Regions from separate parts of the Homo sapiens genome. Here regions 2, 3, 4, 5, 6 and 7 are each linked to region 1. Evidence: promoter capture Hi-C in 16 types of primary human blood cells and fetal thymus (Javierre and others, 2016). All regions are on one chromosome and are shown on one strand. Each heading gives the region's core, a stretch centred on a gene start or on the middle of the fragment in contact. The rest is flanking DNA. Distances are from core to core; before and after follow the strand shown.

The links. Contacts are between HindIII fragments. The CHiCAGO score rates a contact against its expected background, and 5 or more counts as called.
Region 2: a contact is called between a fragment that was not itself captured here and the fragment with the promoter of SNX27 in region 1, in 2 of 17 cell types (neutrophils and non-activated CD4 T cells). The highest score is 5.3, in neutrophils.
Region 3: a contact is called between a fragment that was not itself captured here and the fragment with the promoter of SNX27 in region 1, in 2 of 17 cell types (naive CD8 T cells and M2 macrophages). The highest score is 5.2, in naive CD8 T cells.
Region 4: a fragment that was not itself captured here is called in contact with the fragment with the promoter of SNX27 in region 1 in 3 of 17 cell types (M1 macrophages, M2 macrophages and total CD8 T cells); the score reaches 5.9 in M1 macrophages.
Region 5: a contact is called between a fragment that was not itself captured here and the fragment with the promoter of SNX27 in region 1, in 3 of 17 cell types (M2 macrophages, naive CD8 T cells and total B cells). The highest score is 6.2, in M2 macrophages.
Region 6: a contact is called between a fragment that was not itself captured here and the fragment with the promoter of SNX27 in region 1, in 1 of 17 cell types (fetal thymus). The highest score is 5.1, in fetal thymus.
Region 7: a fragment that was not itself captured here is called in contact with the fragment with the promoter of SNX27 in region 1 in 1 of 17 cell types (M2 macrophages); the score reaches 5.0 in M2 macrophages.

Annotation. Positions count from the first base shown.
Region 1 is chr1:151,610,684-151,613,383 of GRCh38, forward strand. SNX27 (sorting nexin 27) reads left to right here and starts at 1,367. Exons shown (of 12, transcript NM_001330723.2): 1 at 1,367-1,829. The coding sequence starts at 1,519. It overlaps LOC124904420 (a long non-coding RNA gene), which reads right to left and starts at 2,685. Exons shown (of 2, transcript XR_007066622.1): 1 at 2,508-2,685; 2 at 1-1,716. RefSeq lists an enhancer at 1,143-1,242 and a silencer at 1,283-1,722. The HindIII fragment of the contact is 5,045 bases long and covers 1-2,700 here.
Region 2 is chr1:152,030,813-152,033,764 of GRCh38, forward strand. It overlaps S100A11 (S100 calcium binding protein A11), which reads right to left. Exons shown (of 3, transcript NM_005620.2): 2 at 2,836-2,952; 3 at 1,694-2,011. The coding sequence ends at 1,850. Among named protein-coding and RNA genes, the nearest start is that of S100A11, 4.7 kb to the right of the region's middle. The HindIII fragment of the contact is 2,987 bases long and covers 1-2,867 here.
Region 3 is chr1:151,893,391-151,896,330 of GRCh38, forward strand. THEM4 (thioesterase superfamily member 4) reads right to left here. Exons shown (of 6, transcript NM_053055.5): 2 at 1,618-1,804. Among named protein-coding and RNA genes, the nearest start is that of THEM4, 15 kb to the right of the region's middle. The HindIII fragment of the contact is 652 bases long and covers 1,259-1,910 here.
Region 4 is chr1:151,867,984-151,870,756 of GRCh38, forward strand. No RefSeq gene overlaps it. Among named protein-coding and RNA genes, the nearest start is that of THEM5, 16 kb to the left of the region's middle. The HindIII fragment of the contact is 1,301 bases long and covers 736-2,036 here.
Region 5 is chr1:151,915,485-151,918,618 of GRCh38, forward strand. No RefSeq gene overlaps it. Among named protein-coding and RNA genes, the nearest start is that of THEM4, 7.5 kb to the left of the region's middle. The HindIII fragment of the contact is 3,893 bases long and covers 1-3,134 here.
Region 6 is chr1:152,001,929-152,004,759 of GRCh38, forward strand. No RefSeq gene overlaps it. Among named protein-coding and RNA genes, the nearest start is that of S100A10, 9.5 kb to the left of the region's middle. The HindIII fragment of the contact is 485 bases long and covers 1,127-1,611 here.
Region 7 is chr1:151,934,509-151,937,294 of GRCh38, forward strand. All of the region lies in intron 1 of LOC124904421 (a long non-coding RNA gene), which reads right to left. Among named protein-coding and RNA genes, the nearest start is that of THEM4, 26 kb to the left of the region's middle. RefSeq lists an enhancer at 2,070-2,715. The HindIII fragment of the contact is 2,082 bases long and covers 221-2,302 here.

The DNA.
Region 1 (2,700 bases), core at 117-2,616:
CTCTTGTCTCACTGGAAGGTCTTCATGGGTAATAACATGCACAGAGCTGTCATCTGATGGTAACAATAACTGGGGCCAGGCACAGTGGCTCACACCTGTAATCCCAGCACTTTGGGAGGCTGAGGTGGTTGGATCACCTGAGGTCAGGAGTTCGAGACCAGCTTGGCCAACATGGTGAAACCCTGTCTCTACTAAAAATACCAAAAAATTAGCCAGGCATGGTGGCGCATGCGTTTAATCGCAAGGGATTTGGGAGGCTGAGGCAGGAGAATCACTTGAACCTGGGAGGCAGAGGTTGCGGTGAGCCGATATCGTGCCATTGCATTCCAGCCTGGGCGATAAGAGCGAAACTCCATCTTAAAAAAAAAAAAAACAAAAAAACAAAACAAAACAAAAAAACACAATACTTGGAATACGTGGAAAAAAATCACAATACTTAGAATACCTAGAATACCTTCTGAAGGACCTGCCTGAGGCTGCTTTACAGTTAACTTAAAAAAAAAAGTAGAAGGAGTACACTCTAAAATAGTGATAAAAACTACAGTGAATTCATAAACTAGTAACATAGTTCTTACCATTATCAAGTATTATGTACTGTACATAATCATATGTGCTATACTTTCACATGACTGGCAGTGCAGGTTTGTTAACACCAGCATCACTCCAAACATGTGAGTAATGCTTGTGCTATGACCTTATGGTGGCTACTGTGCCACTAGGTGATAGACATTTTTCAGCTCCATTATCATCTTAGGGGGCCTCCCTCGTGTTTGCAGTCCATTGTAGACCAAAATGTCCTTATGTGGCACATGACTGTAGTTGCAATACAGGACAAGAAAGTTGCACAATAACTGGGCCTTAGTTCCTGATACTTAGTAGCTGGATGACTTTGAGCACTCTAAGGTTGTTTCCTAATAACGTAAAATAGGGAAGCTAATCGTGATCCGGTTGCCTCACAGGTTGTTGGGCCCTGGTCAACATATAAGTTACTGTGCCAAAAAATGAGTTGATATAATTTAAGACTGTGTTGAATCACAAACGTTAAGTTATTCTAACATTATTGTTTTTTAGAGGTTATGAAATGAAAGGGGGGGGGGCGAAAAACTTGGTCCGCATCAAGAACTGAATCATTTTACCACGCTGGGTGCTGGGTTATACTCTCCCCACCCAGCAGATCAAACTCCTAACCCAGCATGAAAGATAAACTACAACTCCCGGCAGGCCTTGCTTCCGAACTGCGTCTTATAACCTCGGCTCAGGCCCAGGCCCAGACCGCTCCCCGCCCCCGCCACCCATAAACTACATCTCCCAGGAGGCCCCACGGTGCCCGATTGTCCGCTTTTCGCCCGCCCCCTGCCTCCTCTTCACCCCGCGCCAGCAGCTCGGTGGCCGAGTCGGTCCCGCGGCCGGCGGATCGGGCGCGCGCGTCGGGGGTCGTCCGGCTGCCAGGCAGGGCGAGCACGCGCCGGGAGGCCTTGGAGGCGTAGGGGGCGGGGGTACGGCTCGCCTGCTCGCAAGATGGCGGACGAGGACGGGGAAGGGATTCATCCCTCAGCCCCTCACAGGAACGGAGGTGGCGGCGGCGGCGGGGGGTCTGGGCTCCACTGCGCCGGGAACGGCGGCGGGGGAGGCGGCGGCCCGCGGGTCGTGCGCATCGTCAAGTCCGAGTCCGGCTACGGCTTCAACGTGCGGGGCCAAGTGAGCGAGGGCGGGCAACTGCGGAGCATCAACGGGGAGCTGTACGCGCCGCTGCAGCATGTGAGCGCCGTGCTGCCCGGGGGGGCGGCCGATCGGGCCGGGGTGCGCAAGGGGGACCGCATCCTGGAGGTGTGAGTATCGGGGCTACCCGCCGCCCCATCCTCCCCGCGCCCCTCCTGCCCCTGCACTCCTCGCTACCCTTGTCACCCCCAGGCCGCACCTCCCCCGAGCTCCGAGCCGGCCTCCGGACCCCCGCCCCTCAGGCCTCCGCAGCCGGGCCCCTCCTTGTGGGCTGCCCTCCCACCACCCGCCCCGGGGCTTCTGCGACGCCGGTCTCCCACCCCGTCGTCTCCAGCTGATGCCCTTGCGCCCCCAGTGCTCCTCCCTGTGCCCCGATTACTCTGGGCTCTTCTCCGCCCCTTTGCCTTCCCGTTTGGCGTGCTGCATTCTGCTCCTCACTCCCCCTCGTCTTGCTCAGAAGGAACCTCATCTGCTCCTTACTGACGGCGTTTCGTTTTCTGATCCAGCCAGTACCGTGTCCCCCCCAAGTTCTCATCTTCAGCATCGCAGTTTCGTTCTCCACCACTCCCCTCCGCCCCCGTGGACTGCCCCTTCTGCCCTCCAGACCAAGTAGGCAGGACCTCTGGTCTGCTCCTACTTTTCCTCCGGAAACACCATCCCTCCCCGCTCGTCTCCTTTTTCTTTCCTTAGTTACCCTCTCCTCATGGTTACGCTGCCCCTAAATTTTTCCATCCCACCGTGTGCCCCTTTCCTCCCCTCCTTTTTGTATTTCTACTCCAAGAGTTTACCTTGCTTTCTGACCCTTGCATGCCTTTGGGGTGGGGGGCGTGGGATTTGACACCGTAGTTTCTCTTCTCGGTTGGCCCCGTATCACACCCTAATTTGGAATCTAGCGTCTCCATCAGCACACCCCTCTGAGAGCATCCCTTCCCTGGCCTCCTGCCTTCACTCCTGCTCTATACTCATGCCTCCTCCTAGTCA
Region 2 (2,952 bases), core at 124-2,623, 420 kb after region 1:
ATCATCATCTCTTGGGTTTTACCTCTTACATACTCTTCCCCTCCCTTCCCGCTTCATTGCCTTATTTCAGATTCTTAACTGACCCATTTTACCATCTCTCCATTCTCTCTCTCTTAAAAAAAAATGTTGACTTGTGGCCGTAGAACGATGAATGTCCAAGGCCTATGGATAATTCTAATAGCCCACACACTTGGGCACCAACCCAACAGTGGGATCATGTGTTCACTAAGAGTGTATTTGTGATCGGTCCCAAACCTGTTTATATTCTTTTTTTTCTTTCTTTTTTTTTGAGACGGAGCTTGCTCTGTTGCTAGGCTGGAGTGCAGTGGTGTGATCTGAGCTCACCGCAACCTCCACCTCCCGCGTTCAAGTGATTCTCCTGCTTCAGCCTCCCAAGTAGCCGGGATTACAGGCGCCCGCCACCACACCCGGCTAATTTTTGTATTTTTAGTAGAGACAGGGTTTCACCAAGTTGGCCAGGATGGTCTCGATCTCTTGACCTCGTGATCTGCCTGCCTCAGCCTCCCAAAGTGCTTGGATTACAGGCGTGAGCTACCGCGCCTGGCCCGTTTTTCTTGTAAGGTATAATTTAATTAAATATCCCATAAACCAATAAAATATGTATGTGAAGAGATAGTTTTTATCTTTATGAAAGTCAAATTGAATTCTTTTCAAAGACTGGATGATTCAAATGTACTGAAGATAATTGCAGTTGCTACAGGTATAGCTGAGACAACTGTAAACGGCTGAGGCAGTGGCTCACCCTAAGGTGCTGGCCTTCATTTTGGAATGTCAGAGCCAAAAATGACCTCAGATATGGTCTAATCCATCTCACTGAATTTATGAAGGAATAAACCATAATCTAGAGAGATTTTTGCTAATTAGTTAAAACTCACATAAATGGATAAGGAATCAGAGGTTTTCTGGATACACATCACTTTTTCGCTGTGCTTCTTAGGAATAATTGCACATTGCGGAAACCTGCCCCTCTTTCTCTCTCTCTCCTCTAATCTGTCATCTTTAACCCTGGATCAGTCTTCTTACCTTCTTTCTAGGCTCTCTTTCCCTGCTGCTTTATCAGAGGGCTTAGAAAATTAAAACTAGTGTTAACACTAGCTTAAGCCAAACATGAAGACCTTGGCAACACGAGCCTCCTTTCTATTCCACAAACATCCTAGATCCTTCTTATCTTTGGAGGACCTCTGCCCTTCCCATTTCTTCTCTTGAAATGCCCTCTTCTTCTTTTCAAATGTTTGCTCTTTCTAGTTCTTCATATCTCAGCACAAATGTCATGTCCTCAGAATAGTGCCCTCTTAGTCCCCATGAATCTGTAACATAATTGTAATCTGTCCTTCCTAGGATTTATCATACTCTGATAGTCCTTTGTTTATTTAGTCATTGTTCTCTCCCCCAACGAGAAGTTATACTCAGTGAAGGCATGACCTTGTCTGTCTTGCTGGTTGTATTCTCAGGATCTATGACAGTGCCAACGGGTAGCAGTGAGTAAACAATAACAATAAGTGACAACTCTCCATCAGTCAATAATTTAGAGATGAATCTGGTTGTACTATTAGTCATGATTATGTGTACACCCAAGATGCATTTTTTCTTATTTACTATGCAGCTTCTATCAATCTAATTTATATTCCTCCCACTTTCCACCCTCCCATGCACAAATTCACCAACTCTCTAGTTCATGTTTTAAAAAAGTGACATTGCTTTATTACTATTGGCAGGTGGGGCCTGCATGAGGTGGTTAGTGTGCTCAGGGGATGGGTGGGCTGTGGAGATGATGACAGAAAGGCTGGAAGGAAAGGGGGTGGGTTTGAAGGCCAGGGCCAAGGGGTCCTCAGGTCCGCTTCTGGGAAGGGACAGCCTTGAGGAAGGAGTCATGGCAAGCCATAGCTAGGCCACCAATCAGATTAAGAAATTCTGAGAAATCTAGCTGACCATCACTGTTGGTGTCCAGTTTCTTCATCATGCGGTCAAGGACACCAGGGTCCTTCTGGTTCTGCAGAGAAAATAATAATTACACCTTTATATCGCATCTTCTAATGTGCTTTCAAATATGCTGCCACATTTTATTCTCACAGGAGTATAAGGTACAGGATAGGGATTATTAATATTCCCATTTGCCAGATGCAGAAACAGACTAAAAGAGGTGAAGTGACCTGCCTAAGGGGCAGACCTGGGCCTTGAACCAAAGGTTTTCCCACTCCTAGTCCAGGGCTCTTTCTATGATATTAGGGGCTATTCAGTTTTGTAAAGCCAGTGGAACACTTCTTTCAAGTGTTGCATGCAACTCCAATAGATAAACTATATAAAAGTACAGCGGGTTCAGGTGGAAAAAGGCCACAGGCCCTGCCTAATCAGTCTCATCCTCCACTTGCCCAAGCTGCCAACACAGATACAGACTTAGAGCCACTGGTTACAAATGGCTATTTACATTTACATTTACATTAACTAATTTAGAAAGTCAGTCTGTTAGTCACACTAGCCACATTTCAAGCACTCAGCAGACACATGTGGCTGGTGGCTACCATGTTGGATAGAGCAGATATAGAATGTATTTCCACCACTGCAGAAAGTTCTACTGGACAGGGCTGCCATAGAACCTCTGGGGTAGAATAATGAAATTTGAAAATAATTCCATTACGTCATATACCATTTCATATATCTCTCTTCCTAAATGGAAAAACTCCTGGCTTAGAGTGAGTTAAAATGAAGCAAGAGTGTGGGGTGTCAGTTGCTGCTCCTTCATTCCTGGCCATTCTGCCAGGGTCTTGTTTCATGTTGTGGGTAGTTTGGGGAAGTGGGGGAGACAGGGACCAGTACCTTTGTGAAGGCAGCTAGTTCTGTATTCATGAAGCTTAGGAACTCTGTCTTGGAGAGAGTGTAGTTATAACCATCCTTTCCAGCATACTTCTGGAAGACAGCAATCAGGGACTCGAT
Region 3 (2,940 bases), core at 335-2,834, 280 kb after region 1:
ACAAAAAAACAACAAAACAAAAAAACCCAAAACAAAAGAGAGAGAGAGAGAGAGACTGGGAAGAGAGAAATGCAGTTGTGGCATGTTTATATGCTGATACGAAACATCTAGCAGAGATGGATGTCCTTCAGTAGGCCAAAGAAAATGGAATGCAGCGCACAAATGGAAGGCTTGGTCTCCCTAAGAGTGTGGATGGTTCACTCACAGCAGGAAGAAGCAGAACATCAGGCACAGATGCAGGGGGGAGGATATGTGAGGCAATGGGAGACTGGGAGTTCTCTTCTGACTGCTTTTATTTTCTCTTAGTGAGATAGGAAGCGAGACCAACTGAGGGTGAGAAGGGAAAGTATTAGAGGCATAAGAAGAAAGAAAAAGGCAGAAAATACTCATCCAGTAAGGGAGGAGAGTGAATAAACTAGGGAAACATGAAGTATGGTTGTTGGGCAATATTGAGAGCCTTCTTTTTCTCTTTTTTTTTTTGTAGGGGGGGAGACAGTCTCACTCTGTTGCCCAGGATGGAGTGCAGTGGCGCGATCTCAGCTCACTGCAACCTCTGCCTCCTGGATTCAAATAATTCTTCTGCCTCAGCCTCCCAAGTAGCTGGAATTACAGGTCCCCGCCACGAGGCCCAACTAATTTTTTTTGTATTTTTAGTAGAGACGAGGTTTCACCATGTTGGCCAGGCTGGTCTTAAACCCCTGACCTCAAGTGATCCGCCCGCTTCAGTCTCCCAAAGTGCTGGGATTATAGGCATGAGCCACGGTGCCTGGCCCAAGGGCCTTCTTAAAAGTCAGTTAAAAAAAACCAACCACCACCTAAAGATGTGTTTGGATGATTAAAAGATAATGAGTAACTCAGAAATATCTGTGAATGATTCAAATATACTATAATGATGGATATCTGTCATTACACAGTTGTTAAAACCCACGGAAAACATAATACGAAGAGTGAACCCTAAAACAAACTATGGACCTTAATTAAGAATAATATATTAATATTGGCTCATCAATTGTAACAAATACACCACAGTAATGTGAGATGTTAATAATAGGAGAAATTAGGGGTGGGGAGGGGATAAAGGGTATATGGGAACTCTCTGTACTTTAGGCTAATTTTTCTATAAAATTATAATGCTAAAAAAGTATATTAGTAAAAAAACACAGAAGGATAGGAATTGCTATGTGTGTGTTTTGGGTGTTGGGTGGGTTGCCCTGGGGATTTAGATACTGGGAGATGTGGGTATAACCTGAGTGTTCTAAGCTTCTTAGGGTGATATAACCAGATATGGGATAAAGGGTGAAATGAGATTAGATGACAGCCTCAAGACGGAGAGGTGATGAGGTTGTAGGAGGGTGGAAGCTCTCTGGGGCCCTTTCTTCACTCTTGCTAATGGTGATAAGAATGCCAGGGTGGGAGCAGTCTTATTCTTGACAATAGGCTTTATGCTCTCCAATCTGCAAAATTTATTGTGATTTCTGGTCTATAAAATTGGTGACTATAGAACCATAATCCTGCATTATATTCTTTCTTTTTTTCAGGTAGTAACTAGTACTTCAATCTGTTCTTAGCTTTATATTTGATGCTCAGATATATTAATGGGAAAGTGGCTGTTTCTACCAAGAAAATGGGTTTTGAAGTCTTGAATCCATTCAGTAGGTGTACGTTTATATGAAGGCAAACGTTTCCAGGAGCCGTCTTCACATTTCTTCATAAACTGGTCAAAGAGCAGTCTTAGGTCCTTGTTCCAGCTGGGGTTGGGGACAGAACAGTCCTTAAGAATGACTTCCTCAGAAGAAAATGACCTCTAAAAGACAGAAGAAAAAGAAAAGTAAGTAATGGGAGGTGCATTCTATTTCATAACATATTCTCCCAATTTCTAAGATTATCTTGCTGCTTTTCTTCTCCCCATAAGCTTGTCACTTCAAAATGGAAGGGAATTTCAGGGATCATCTGGTCCAACCTCCTTGGGAAAATGAGAGACTGAGAGAGGGAAAATGATTTGCTCAACATCACCCAGCGAGCTATTGACAGAGCCAGGATTATGCTCAGGTCTGCTGATTCCATTCTTTTTTTCCAGACTTTAATCAAGCACAGGTAAGCCCAGCACACTGGAGATGGAGGTTAAGAACAGGCATTATCTTCCATGTTGAAAGTGCTTCCAGTGGCTATGCACAGGAAGTTAGGGGATAAGGGAGAAGTACTCATCTAGGATTAGGGGTTCAGGAAGGGGTTCTTTGACTTGAATATTGATTAGATAAGCAGAAATTAGCCAGCTGGAAAAAGTATTACAGGAAAAAAAAAAAAAACACTGGAATATAGTTTGGATGTGTGTTCCCGCTCAAATCTCATATTGAAATGTAATCCCCAAAGTTGGAGGTGGGCCCTGGTGGGAGGTGAATGGATCATGGGGGTGAATTTCTCATGGACGGTTTAGCACCATCCTCCTCGGTACTGTCCTCATGATAGTGAGTTCTCATGAGATCTGGTTGTTTAAAAGTGTATAGTACCTTGTGCCTTGCACTCTTGCTCTTGCTGTGTCCATGTGAAGTGCCTGCTCCTGCTTTGCCTTCTGCCATGACTGTAAGTTTTCTTGCTTCCTTTTTTTTTTTTTTTTTTTTTTGAGACAGAGTCCCACTCTGTTGTCCAGGCTGGAGTGCAGTGGCGCAATCTTGGCTCACTGCAACCTCCACCTCCTGGGTTCAAGTGATTCTCCTGCCTCAGCCTTCTGAGTAGCTGGAGTTACAGGTGCCGCCCCACCACACCCGGCTAATTTTTGTATTTTTAGTAGGGATGAGGTTTCACCATGTTGGACAGGCTGGTCTCGAACTTCTGACCTTAGGTGATCTGCCCACCTCGGCCTCCCCAAGTGCTGGGATTACAGGAGTGAGCCACTGTGCCCGGCTGACTGTAAGTTTTCTGAGCCCTCCCCAGCAGCCAAGC
Region 4 (2,773 bases), core at 136-2,635, 260 kb after region 1:
CTTTTTTACCACCCTAGAAAAACAGTATTGTAAGTAATCACTTAAATCACTTCCTGTTCTCTCCTCCATGCGCACCACCCTCATTCCCCTAGCAAGCACTGTATTAGTCCATTCTCACACTGCTATGAACTGCCCGAGACTGGGTAAATTTCTAAAGGAAAGAAGTTTAATTGACTCGCAGTCCTGCATGGCTGGGGAGGACACAGGAAACTTACAATCATGGCAAAAAGGAAAGAAAACACATCCTTCCTGACATAGCAGGAGAGAGAAGTGCTGAGTGAAGTGGGGAAAAGCCCTTTATAAAACCATCAGATCTCATGAGAATGCACTCACTACCACGAGAACAGCATGGGGGAACTGCCCCCATGATCTAATCACCTTCCACAAGGTCCTGTCCCCAACACATGGGGATTACAATTTGGATTACAATTCAAGATGAGATTTTGGGTGGGGACACAGCCAAACCATATCAATCACTAATCTATTTTCTGTCTCTATGGAGTTGCCTATTCTAAATATAGTATTGTTTTCTTTCACTTAATGTGATGCTTTTGAGGTTTATCCAAGCTGCAGCATGTTTCAGTATTTCATTCCTTTGTATGGCTGAATAATAGTCTATTATGTGTGTGTGTGTGTGTACTACAATTTGTTTATCTATTCATTCATTAATGGCCATTTGGGTTGTTTCCACATTTTGGCTATTACGAATAATGCTATTATAAACACTAGTGTACAAGCTTCTGTGTGGATGCGTGTTTTCATTTCTCTTTTATTTATACCTAGCAGTGGAATTGCTGGGTCATATAGTAATTGTATGTCTTTTTGGGGAACTGCCAAATTTTCCGTAGCAGCTGCATTATTTTATATTCACCCAGCAATGTATGAAGTTTCTATTTTTTTTTTTTACATCCTCCTTGACACTGTTTTTAAAAACGAAAAATTATAGACCAGCCTGGCCAAGATGGTGAAACCCCATCTCTACTAAAAATACACAAAAAAATTAGCCAGGTGTGGTGGTGGGTGCCTGTAATCTCAGTTACTTGGGAGGCTGAGGCAGGAGAATCACTTGAACCTGGGAGGCGGAGGTTGCAGTGACCCCAGGTCGCGCCATTGCATTCCAACCTAGACAACAAGGGCGAAACTCCATCTCAAAAAAAAAAAATAAAATAAAATAAAAAAATTATAGGCATTTTAGTAGGTGTGGTCATTGTGGTTTTGATTTGCATTTTTCTAATGATTAGTGATGTTGAGGCTCTTTTCATATACTTGTTAGCCATTTCCATTTCCATATCTTCTTTGGAGAAATGTCCATTCAAGTTCTTCCCCCATTTTTAAACTGGGTTCTTTGTTGTTGAGTTGTAAGAATTCCTTATATATTCTGAATGCGAACACCTTTTTGGATATATAATTTGCAAATATTTTTCCCATTCTGTAGGGATTTTTTTTCACTTCACTGATATTATTCTTTAATGCACAAAAGATGAATTTTTTTTTTTTTTTTTTGAGATGGAGTCTTGCTCTGTCGCCCAGGCTAGAGTGCAGTGGCGCAATCTCGGCTCACTGCAAGCTCCGCCTCCCGGGTTCATGCCATTCTCCTGCCTCAGCCTCCTGAGTAGCTGGGACTACAGGCACCCGCCACCATGCCTGGCTAATTTTTTGTATTTTTAGTAAAGATGGGGTTTCACCATGTCAGCCAGGATGGTCTCGATCTCCTGACCTTGTGATCCGCCTGCCTCGGCCTCCCAAAGTGCTGGGATTACAGGCTTGAGCCACCGCACCCAGCCAATGAAGTTTTGTACCCTGCAATTTTGCTGAATTTATTTATTAGTGCTAGTTTTGTTTTTTTGGTGAATTCTTTGGGATTTTCTATATGTAGACATGTCATCTGCAAATAGAGATAATTTTACATCTTCCTTTCTAATTTGCAAGCTGTTTTTGTTTTTCTTGCTTAATTCCTCTGGGTAAGACTTCCAGTACTATATTGAATAGCAGTAGTGAAGGTGGAAATCCTTACCTTTTTCCTAACGTTAGGGGAAAGCTTTCTGTCTTTTATCACTGAGTGTGATACCAGCTGTGCATTTTTCTAGATTATGTTCAGGTAGTCTTTTTCTATTCCTAGTTTTCTGAGTGCTTTTTGTCATGAAAGGGTGTTGGATTTTGTCAAATGCCATTCCTTGCACCAATTGAGATGATCATGTGGTTTTACTCTCTTGAAGTATAAATGTGGTGTATTACATTGATTTATTTTCTTATGTTGAACCACCTCTGCCTTTCTGGGATAAATCTCACTTGGTCATAGCATATAATCTTTTTAATGTGCTATTGGATTTGCTTGTTATCTTGTTGAGTATTTTTGCATCTATACTCGTAAGGGATATTGATCTGTAGTTTTGACTTTTTTTTTCCTCTTATGGTATCTTTGTCTGCAGTCCACTTAATTTTAAATCTATAATTGAGAAGGAATAAACCAATTCTGTAATTCTAAACTGGCCAGAGTAGTGCCAGACCAAGAATACTATCAAGTGAAATTTCAAACTTTTCTGAGACATAAAATTCATGACTTTAGTGACTTAAATTTGAAAGATTGCCTCATTGTCTCCATCACAGAGGATGTTGTATACTTGGTCCTGAAAAATATGTTTGACTAGGGTCCCATGATGGTCATCCATTAGGTAAGACAATAATTTGGCTTCATAAGTCCCCAGAAGAGGTTAAGCGTCCTGAGAAGGTAATGGGATAGGGAACATAGGAACATGTAGGATATGAGCTTCCT
Region 5 (3,134 bases), core at 349-2,848, 310 kb after region 1:
GGTTCTGTGTCAAAGGACAGCATGAAGTCACCTGGCAAGTTCAGGACACTACTGAGAGTTTCCGTGGAGTTTGGGCATCCAGTAAGAGGGGGTTGTGGTGAAAGATGAGGCTGAAAAGGCTGGAGAAGCAGGCTGGGGCTTCAAGATCCCAAAGGACTCTATTCTCCTATATGTGTTTAGAGATCACTCTGGAGGAAATGGAGAGCTACAGGGAGACTGTTACTAGAGGACTGGCATTATCTGATTGATATTTTAGAAGGATCATGATAGAGGCTCCGGGGAAATTGCATTGGAATCAAGGAAACACTTGAGTGCTTTGTGGGGATTGATAGAGTGAGGGGATTTGGTAATGGATGAGGCCAAGGGCAGGGGAAAGAAGGAGGACTAAGATGTTATCCAGGTTTCCTGGACTACAAATTGTGGAGGTACCCTTTAGAAAGGGAAAAGGAGGAGTATGTTTAGGGGCACAGGGAAGAAAAGTGAGTTCTTTTCTGGATACGTTGTGTTGAAGGTACCGCAGAGATAATAGAATAGTTTGGAACTTAAGATAAAGGCCTGAAAGTGTCCTTTTTTTAGAACACAGAACATATTAGAGACATCAGTAAGAGCAGCTGAGGTGGGGAGGTGAGGCTGGAGGAATGAGTGGGAGGTAAACATACAAACAGGAGTAGACTGACTACTCTTCAGACCTCTTATAGTGAGAAGAGAGGACAGCAGCCAGAGGTGAAGAAAGGATTGTTTTTAAAGAAACATGGTGCTTTCTGTTTTTTAAATACTGAGAAGAAAGTCTAACGATCAAGTTTGATGAGACTAAATTTATGTTGCAAACATATGAGTCTTATAGTGTTTATCTTTGATAGAAATGGGGGTGACTGTAAAGAGAATAATTATGTTTCTGAGGAAAAACTATAGTACACCTGTTATTAGGTTTTACTCCTATTCATTGTTTTCAAATTTTTATTGTCTACCTGTATACCGGACTGGATCCTGTATTCTAGTTTCCTTCAGTATCTGGCTATAATTTTCCAACTAAGAACAAAAATTGCTCTGTTCCTAAAGCCCCAGAGCTGAAGCTGGACAACTCAATGTAAATTTTAAGGGACAAGCCTCATGCCCGATGTGTGGACCACACCAAGTTCACCAAACTGCCCGATGCCATAACCAGAGACATTCAAACTACAAACCCACATGAGTTGTTAACTTTATCATGGGGAGTTTTTCTCAAGACTGTCGGAACAGCTGAGTGCAATGGCTCATGCCTGTAATCCTAGTGCTTTGGGAGGCTGAGGCAGGTGAATTGCTGGGCCCAGGAGTTTGACACTAGCCTGGGCAACGTGGCGAAATCTCGTCTCTAAAAAAAATACAAAAATTAGCCAGGCACGGTGGTGCATGCCTGTAGTCCCGGCTACTCAAAAGGCTGATGTGGGAGGATGACTTGAGCCCAGGAGGTGGAGGTTGCAGTGAGCTGAGATCATGCCACTGCCACTGCACTCCAGTCTGGGTGACAGAGCTAGACCCTGTCTCCAAAAAACAAACAAACAAATAAACAAACAGACAAAACTGTCAGAACAAGACCCTGCCATAATGAGACTATTATTTCCCTTAATTTTTCCTTGTTTATGCCTATCTTTTTTGTCTGGCAGAATAATGCTATCGTTAGAATTTCACAATCAGTAGCTTCTGTGGGTGACTTGCAAATTGTCATTCCATACTTTAACTCAGTCATGAGATTTTCTATTAGCTGAACAAGAAGGAATCATTGCAGTTGCTAACACTTCTTGTTGCACAGGGATAAATACATCAGGTATCATAGAGACTGGGCTGAAAAAATAGACTGGCTACTTGGTTAAGATCGATATACTCCTCATCTGGCTCATTCTTCAATCTATTCTATTTTAGTTGGTTTGTTTCATGAGGACCCTAGCTAAGGAGCATACTCCAGACTCTTGATAATATCCTCCTGAGAGTAATAATAGTAGTCTGTCTGTTGCACTGTATGCTCTCAAAAAGTTTTAAATGTTTGTGGCCGGGTGTGGTGGCTCACACCTGTAATCACAGCACTTTGAGAGGCTGAGGTGGGCGGACCACCTGAGGTCAGGATTTCGAGACCAGCCTGGCCAACATGGTGAAACCCTGTCTGTACTAAAAATACAAAAATTAGCTGGACATGGTGGTGCGTGTCTGTAGTCTCAGCTACTCGTGAGGCTGAGGCAGGAGAATCGCTTGAACCTGGGAGGCAGAGGTTGCAGTGAACTGAGATCACACCACTGCACTCCACCAGGGTGACAGAGCGAGACTCCATCTCAAAAAAAAAAAGTTTTAAATGTTTGCATACAGCCATCTGTTGAATGTCAAATAGTCTGTCTTTGGCTGGAATAACAAAAAACTCAAAGAAATGCATGATGATGAGGACACTAACCTATGAATGATGTGTTGAGACTGGAAACCTAAAATGATGGTAACTGAGACTAGTGCCAATGCCCTTAGTTTTGGTCAGGTTCTCACTTGAGCCTTGACCAAAAGGGGAAAATTGTTAAATAAAAATTATAGGAGGCCATTGTTTTGGACTAAGCTCCTGCACTAGGCCCCAGCAGATCAGAATAAAAATCAAAATGGAGCCAGTCATACTAAAGTTTAATGTAACCAAACCAAAACTAAGTTGTTATTTGATCTTCCTAGAAATCAGGAGAGAGAGAACAGCTTAATTTCCCAAACGGGCATGATAATAAAGTTTCGTCTGCCCTAATCATTACCAAAAAATGTAACCTGATGTTAACAATTAGTTATTTCTCCATTGTTCTGTTTCCTCTTCTCACTGTACAAGGAAAGTAACTGTGAAATGAGTTATCCGCTCTTTGTTCTTTGTTTCTGCTTTCTTCAGCCCTTCTGTCTGTAAAACCAATCTCCTCTGCTCAGCTCATTGGAACACTATTCTGTTTTATAGAATGAGGTTTTGTTTTATTCTAGAATTGCAAATAAAGCCAATTGAGGTCTTCAAACTAAATATTTTGGAATTGTATCCTTTGACACCCCCATTAAGCACTTTCTATATCTAGCCTCTGCCTGTTTCAACATACTCAAACCTCTTTCACATAAAACAACAGTCATGACAGCAGAAACTCTCACACCTATAC
Region 6 (2,831 bases), core at 119-2,618, 390 kb after region 1:
TTGACAGTGGGGTTTACTTTCTCTTGAGTGGCCCAGGCAGGAAATCCTTGGCTGGAAACCAGAGGATTGAATATGGGGCTGGAAAGATTACCTAGTTGGCTTGAGATGGAGGCTGTGATTTAGGTTGACATCCTACCCCATTTTCTCTTGCTTTTGGCAGCATTTCTCTGGGCTTGAGCAGTGAGAAAAGTAATGCTCTGTGTACAAGACGCCAAAAAAAAATATATATATATATATATATATAGGTGAAAATAGGTTGTTAAGTTGAACTAGTGTCTGGTACCATATGGACCAAAACCTCAGTTTGAGCATAGGATTCCACCAGTTTTATTGGTTGACTTTTAAGTGAATTCATTCTAACAGCTTTGAGCACAGATATTCTGAAAGCTAAAGTGCTTAGCTGTTGGAGGATGTACTGGCTGGTAATTAGTGGGGCATCTGTGAGGTCTTGTATCATGTGACCAATGTATGGTCATATGACCAACATATGGCCATTTGATAGAAGAACACAAATGGGCTGGACACGGCTCATGCCTGTAATCTCAGCACTTTGGGAGGCCGAGGCAGGCAGATCACCTGAGGTCAGGAGTTCAAGACCAGCCTGACCAACATAGTGAAACCCTGTGTCTACTAAAAATACAAAATTAGCTTGGTGTGGTGGTGCATGCCTGTAATCCCAGTTACTTGAGAGGCTGAGGCAGGAGAATCACTTGAACCCAGGAGGCGGAGGTTGCAGTGAGCCGAGATCGCACCACTGCACTCCAGCCTGGAGACAGAGCGAGACTCTGCCAAAAACAAACAAACAAACAAACAAACAAAACAAAAAAACCCCCACAAACATACTCCAAGTCTTCTTGTTAAAAATTAACACAATAATTTTATATTCTATGAAGTTCTGTCTCATATGTTATCTTATTTGTTTCTTATGATCACTCCAAGAAATATTTTAGGTCGATTAGTGCTATGATTATAGTAATAATTATTGTGGTTTATGTATATTATCTGTAAATCTAACAAAAGCCCTGTAAAATAGATAGCCAGTCTGTTTTCAGATGTGGAAAGGAAGCTCAGAGAGGCTACATAACTTCCCTAAGGGCATTGATATAGTCCTATTGGAACCCAGATAAGCTTAGTCTCAAAGCCTCCCCTCTTGTCACCACCCGACTCTGCCTTACTCTTGGTAGAACCACAGCGATGACAGCTGCTTGGGAACATAACCACAATCTGGGCAGGAACATGAGAAGTGTTCACAACCAGCACTGAGGTGAGGTAGCATGTGTGGGCAGTGCTGCACGGGGGACTTCAGAACAGCAGGCTCCCTCTTGGCTGGACTCTTAAGAATAACTTCATGGGTGACATAGGATTTGAAGTGAGATTTGTAGGTTGGGTCAGATTTGATAGGCTTGATTGAGCATATGGGACAGGGGCTGAGAGAAGAGTAGTCCTGGGGGAGGAGTAACACGAGGGAAGATGCCAAGGGGAGTATGCACAGGACACACTGGAGGAACAGCAAGAGTGGCTAGAAAGAGGGATTGGGTGAGGGATGAGGGCTAGATTATTGATGCTTTTGAATTCCAGGCTAAAAAATTGACCACTCTGCAATGAAACCTAAGCTTTTTTTTTCTGGCTTCTGATTCTCTCTCAAAATTTACCAGTCTCTGGAGCCGCTTGTGTCTTTAAGCAGAGATCATCCTATAGCCCTCAGCTCTTCCCAGCCTCCTTCTCCTTTGATCACTGTGTTGGTAGACACAGTGAAATCATAGAGGGAGGGACCACGGCCAGCTGTGGAGGAGAGAGCAGCTGTGATGTGAGAATGGGGTGAAGCTGGGAGAAAATGAGGGCCAGGAGATGAGGGAGGCCCACCCTGGAATGATGGTGGCAAGGGTGGATGAGAAGGTACAGATTTGAGAGAAAGAACAGGAAGAATCTGCAGGCTACTGCTACTGAGCTCTTGGCCATAGGGAGAGGAAGGAGCAGAACTGCCAGAAGTTTTCAGACCTGGACACCTTGTGCTCTGGTGCCTGCCAAATGCAGGGAGGAGCACTGGTTTGGGAAGGAAGGTGCAGACTAAGCTGCTAAGCTGCTGGTGGGGTTTCTTAGGTGAAAACAACCTGCTTTGTGATTAGTCTTAAGTTGTTTGCCCCACCCCTGACGTGGTGACCTGCAAGGAAGGGTGTGTAGACACTGGTTCTCTCAGTTGTCGGTTCATAGATAACTCTTTCCTGGGCAACACTCTATGGCTCCCTGCACAGCTTACAGTCAGGCTGGAACTCTGGCAGGATGTCTGGCTCCAGCATAGTTTTCCCCAGCCAGGCTCAGCCATCTAGTGGTGAGGGCATTAGATTGGGAGTCTGTCATTTGGCTGTAGCTGCTGGGCTGGGTGCTGTGGGGAATGCACAGATGAAGGCGGCATGGTCCTTCCGTTTGAGGAATTCACACTCCAGGTGAGGAGACAAGTGGTGATGGAAGGCAGTGAAAGGAGGCCAGAAGGTAGACATACTGGCTGGGGACAGATTGTAGGACCAGACAGCCGCTAGGATTTGGCCAGATGTGATTTCCACCATGAAGCCTCCCCAACCTCACCTAGACTGGGGTTGGGTGTTGCTCCTTTAGCCTCTCGTGGCCCTTATCATAGAGTAGGGAAATTGCCTATCTGCTCATTTGTCTCCCTTGATGCTTGTTGGTTCATTGGGGAGAGATTTCTCTTGGTGTGTTGTGTGTTCTGAGCAGAGTATGCTCTCAGTGGATTTTGGCAGGAACCATAAATCAGTGATCAACACAGGATGATAAGAAGAGTGGTCCTGAGGCATCTGAGGAAGGGAAGAGTGCAA
Region 7 (2,786 bases), core at 12-2,511, 320 kb after region 1:
GTCCTGAATCTTCTGGATTTTTGGTTAGTAGGTAAAATTTTTGACTATTATAAATTTCCTTTGAGTAATTAGGAAGATTTTATACATTTTAAATTATTTCCTGGTAAACTTTTAGGCTGATATTCGTCAATAAATGAACAGGTTATATCTATCTCAATACCTAACAGTTTATTCTTTAAGTGATGACTATTATCTAATTAGGGACTTGGAAGAACTTCAAAGCTTAGTCTTCTAGATTTTACAAAGTGATAGATTGCTCTATTATTTATCATTTTGTTTCCAAACTGAGTATAAAATAGTCAATAGATACGTAAAATGAGACCTCAGAGCTGTTTCCTCTTTTGCAAAGTGAGCGATAAGATGCTCCCCACCTCTCTGTCCAGTTCTTACATTCAATAGAAAGACTAAATACGCCTAGAAGACAATGAAATACGTTGAGTGACTCAAAGTTGCTCAGAAATTACCATGAGGAATACCCATCCTAGCTTTCCTTGAACCCTGGACTGCAGTGCTCATCACCATCAAATCTCATGGAATATCTGGTGGGCTAGATTTTGAGTTGTTGCTTTTTGGGTACTCTGCCAGGTGGTATTGTACAGCAGACACATTAAAAGTGACTGAAGTGCAATATTTGTGTCCTCCCCTGAGTGGGATTAGGATCAGAGAAAGTAGGTTCTAAGACATAGAAACCTGTCATGTGAAAAGTCTTTAGGTGAACAAACTGCAGAAAATTTACGGTTGCAAGAAAAAAGTACAATGAGTTCTAAGACCCTCCTGGAAAATGAGGTTGAGTCATTCTGAGGATAGTGCTTCTCACAGGGGAGCTGGGAGGGGAAGGAGGCAGGGCAGAGCTGGCAGCTGCAGGAAGCATGGGCTCTGCCTGTAGGATTTTTCATTCCATAGCAGAAACCACGGAAACTGCAGCCATCTTCATCATGGAGAGGGCTGGGGAAAACAAAGTGGGGAGAATAAAGAACGGGAGATTATCACAAGACTATTACTTATATTCCCTTGGTTTCTGGTATCACAAGGGTTGTAGAGCACTTAACAATTTTTTTTTTCCTTGAGACGGTCTCGCACCCAGGCTGGAGTGCAGTGGCATGAACATAACTCACTGCAGCCTCGACCTCCCAGGCTCAAGCAATCTTCTCGCCTTAGTTCCCCAAGTAGCTAGGCGCACACCAACATGCCCAACTAATTTTTGTATTTTTTGTAGAGACGGGGTTTTGACATGTTGCCCAGGCTGGTCTCGAACTCCTGAGCTCAAGCAATCTGCCTGCCTCAGCCTCCCAAAGTGTTGGGATTACAGGCGTGAGCCACCGTGCCTGGCCACAATATATTTTTCTCTTTGGAATGAGGTAATAAAAGCAACCACTTACTGAGGAGCTCCCAGTACTAGATATTAAATGAGCCACTTTTTTCAAGTTCAACAGAGTTTAAAGGTAAAAGAAAGAGAGACATTTTATACCCATAATGTCATTTAATTCTCACACATCTATTTAGATACCTCCATTTTTAAACGTGAGGAAACAGCTCCAAGAGATTTATGAGCTTTCCCAAGATCACACAACTAGTAAGTTATGGAGCAGGAATTAAAACCAAAATCTCTCTGACAAGTTTCATGCTTTTTAACTAAATCACAGCAAACTACACTACCAGTCTTTTATACATGTTGGTGAAATCTCTCAATAAATATGGAGAGTGCCAAAGCTAATCTCATTATCATTCCCAGAAACATACTGGAACAGGAATTAAAAGAAATTAAGGAGTGTATAAGCAAAAACTCAGTTGTATATTAAAAAACCCAATTCCCCCTGAGAAAGAGAAAGAGCTGGAGTCCTTTAAAAATTAACTGCCTGTTTTTCTGTGGCCAATAAGCCTTATCTCTCCTCCTTTCCCAAACATTGTAAAAACCCTGTTTCCCTAGCTATACAACTACAAAGTCACTAAACAAACTCAAGTCATAAAACATGTTTCTCCTTAAAAAATAAAAAATAATATAATACGTCTCAATTAACTAAATAACTGCCTTTGTTTCTCTCTTCTATAATATGCTTCCCCCTGCACAAATCTCCCCCTGCCCCCAAAAATACTTAAAAAATAACTCTTTATTCAAAACTCAGTCCTTTAAATATTAATCCGACTGGGCCAATACACCTAAATAGTTAATAAATATCCTTCTAAACCCCATCAGTCTCTCTAATTCCTTAAAAATCGCGCAACAATACAACTGTTGAAACCTGTACTTACTCTCTCATTGTTAGACCCAGGTTTCTATATGAAGGTCAAACATGGTCTGATAAGCTTCGTTAAGTAAAAGAAAGCAAGTAGCCTTGAGGTCCCGCAGGGAGCATCAGACACCCCCTGAAGCTTGCGACTCATTTATCTTTAGCACAGTTCAATAGGGCCAAAGGGCACGGTGATAGGGATAGCCCTCTGTTGGGGGATGAAGGGTAGGAGTAAGACAAAGGGAAACTTCCAGATGGAGAGAGGAGATGTCTCAATTTCCTCCCTGCTGTTTCCCTATCACGTTTCCCTTTCTTTTCTTCCTAACACTGTCCACTATAATTATAATTTGCTTCTTACTTTAACTAAGCTTCTTTATTTCTTATAATCCACCCTCCCCCCTGTCTTTTTTCCCTCTTAAGATTATTTCCTTTATTTTTAAGTGTCTAAATATATTCCTAAAATGTAAATTTTAAATTTAAAATATACTGTTTTAAAATTGTCTCTATACATGTAAACTGAAGGTAACTGATAATATTAGCAGCACTAATATTATAAAA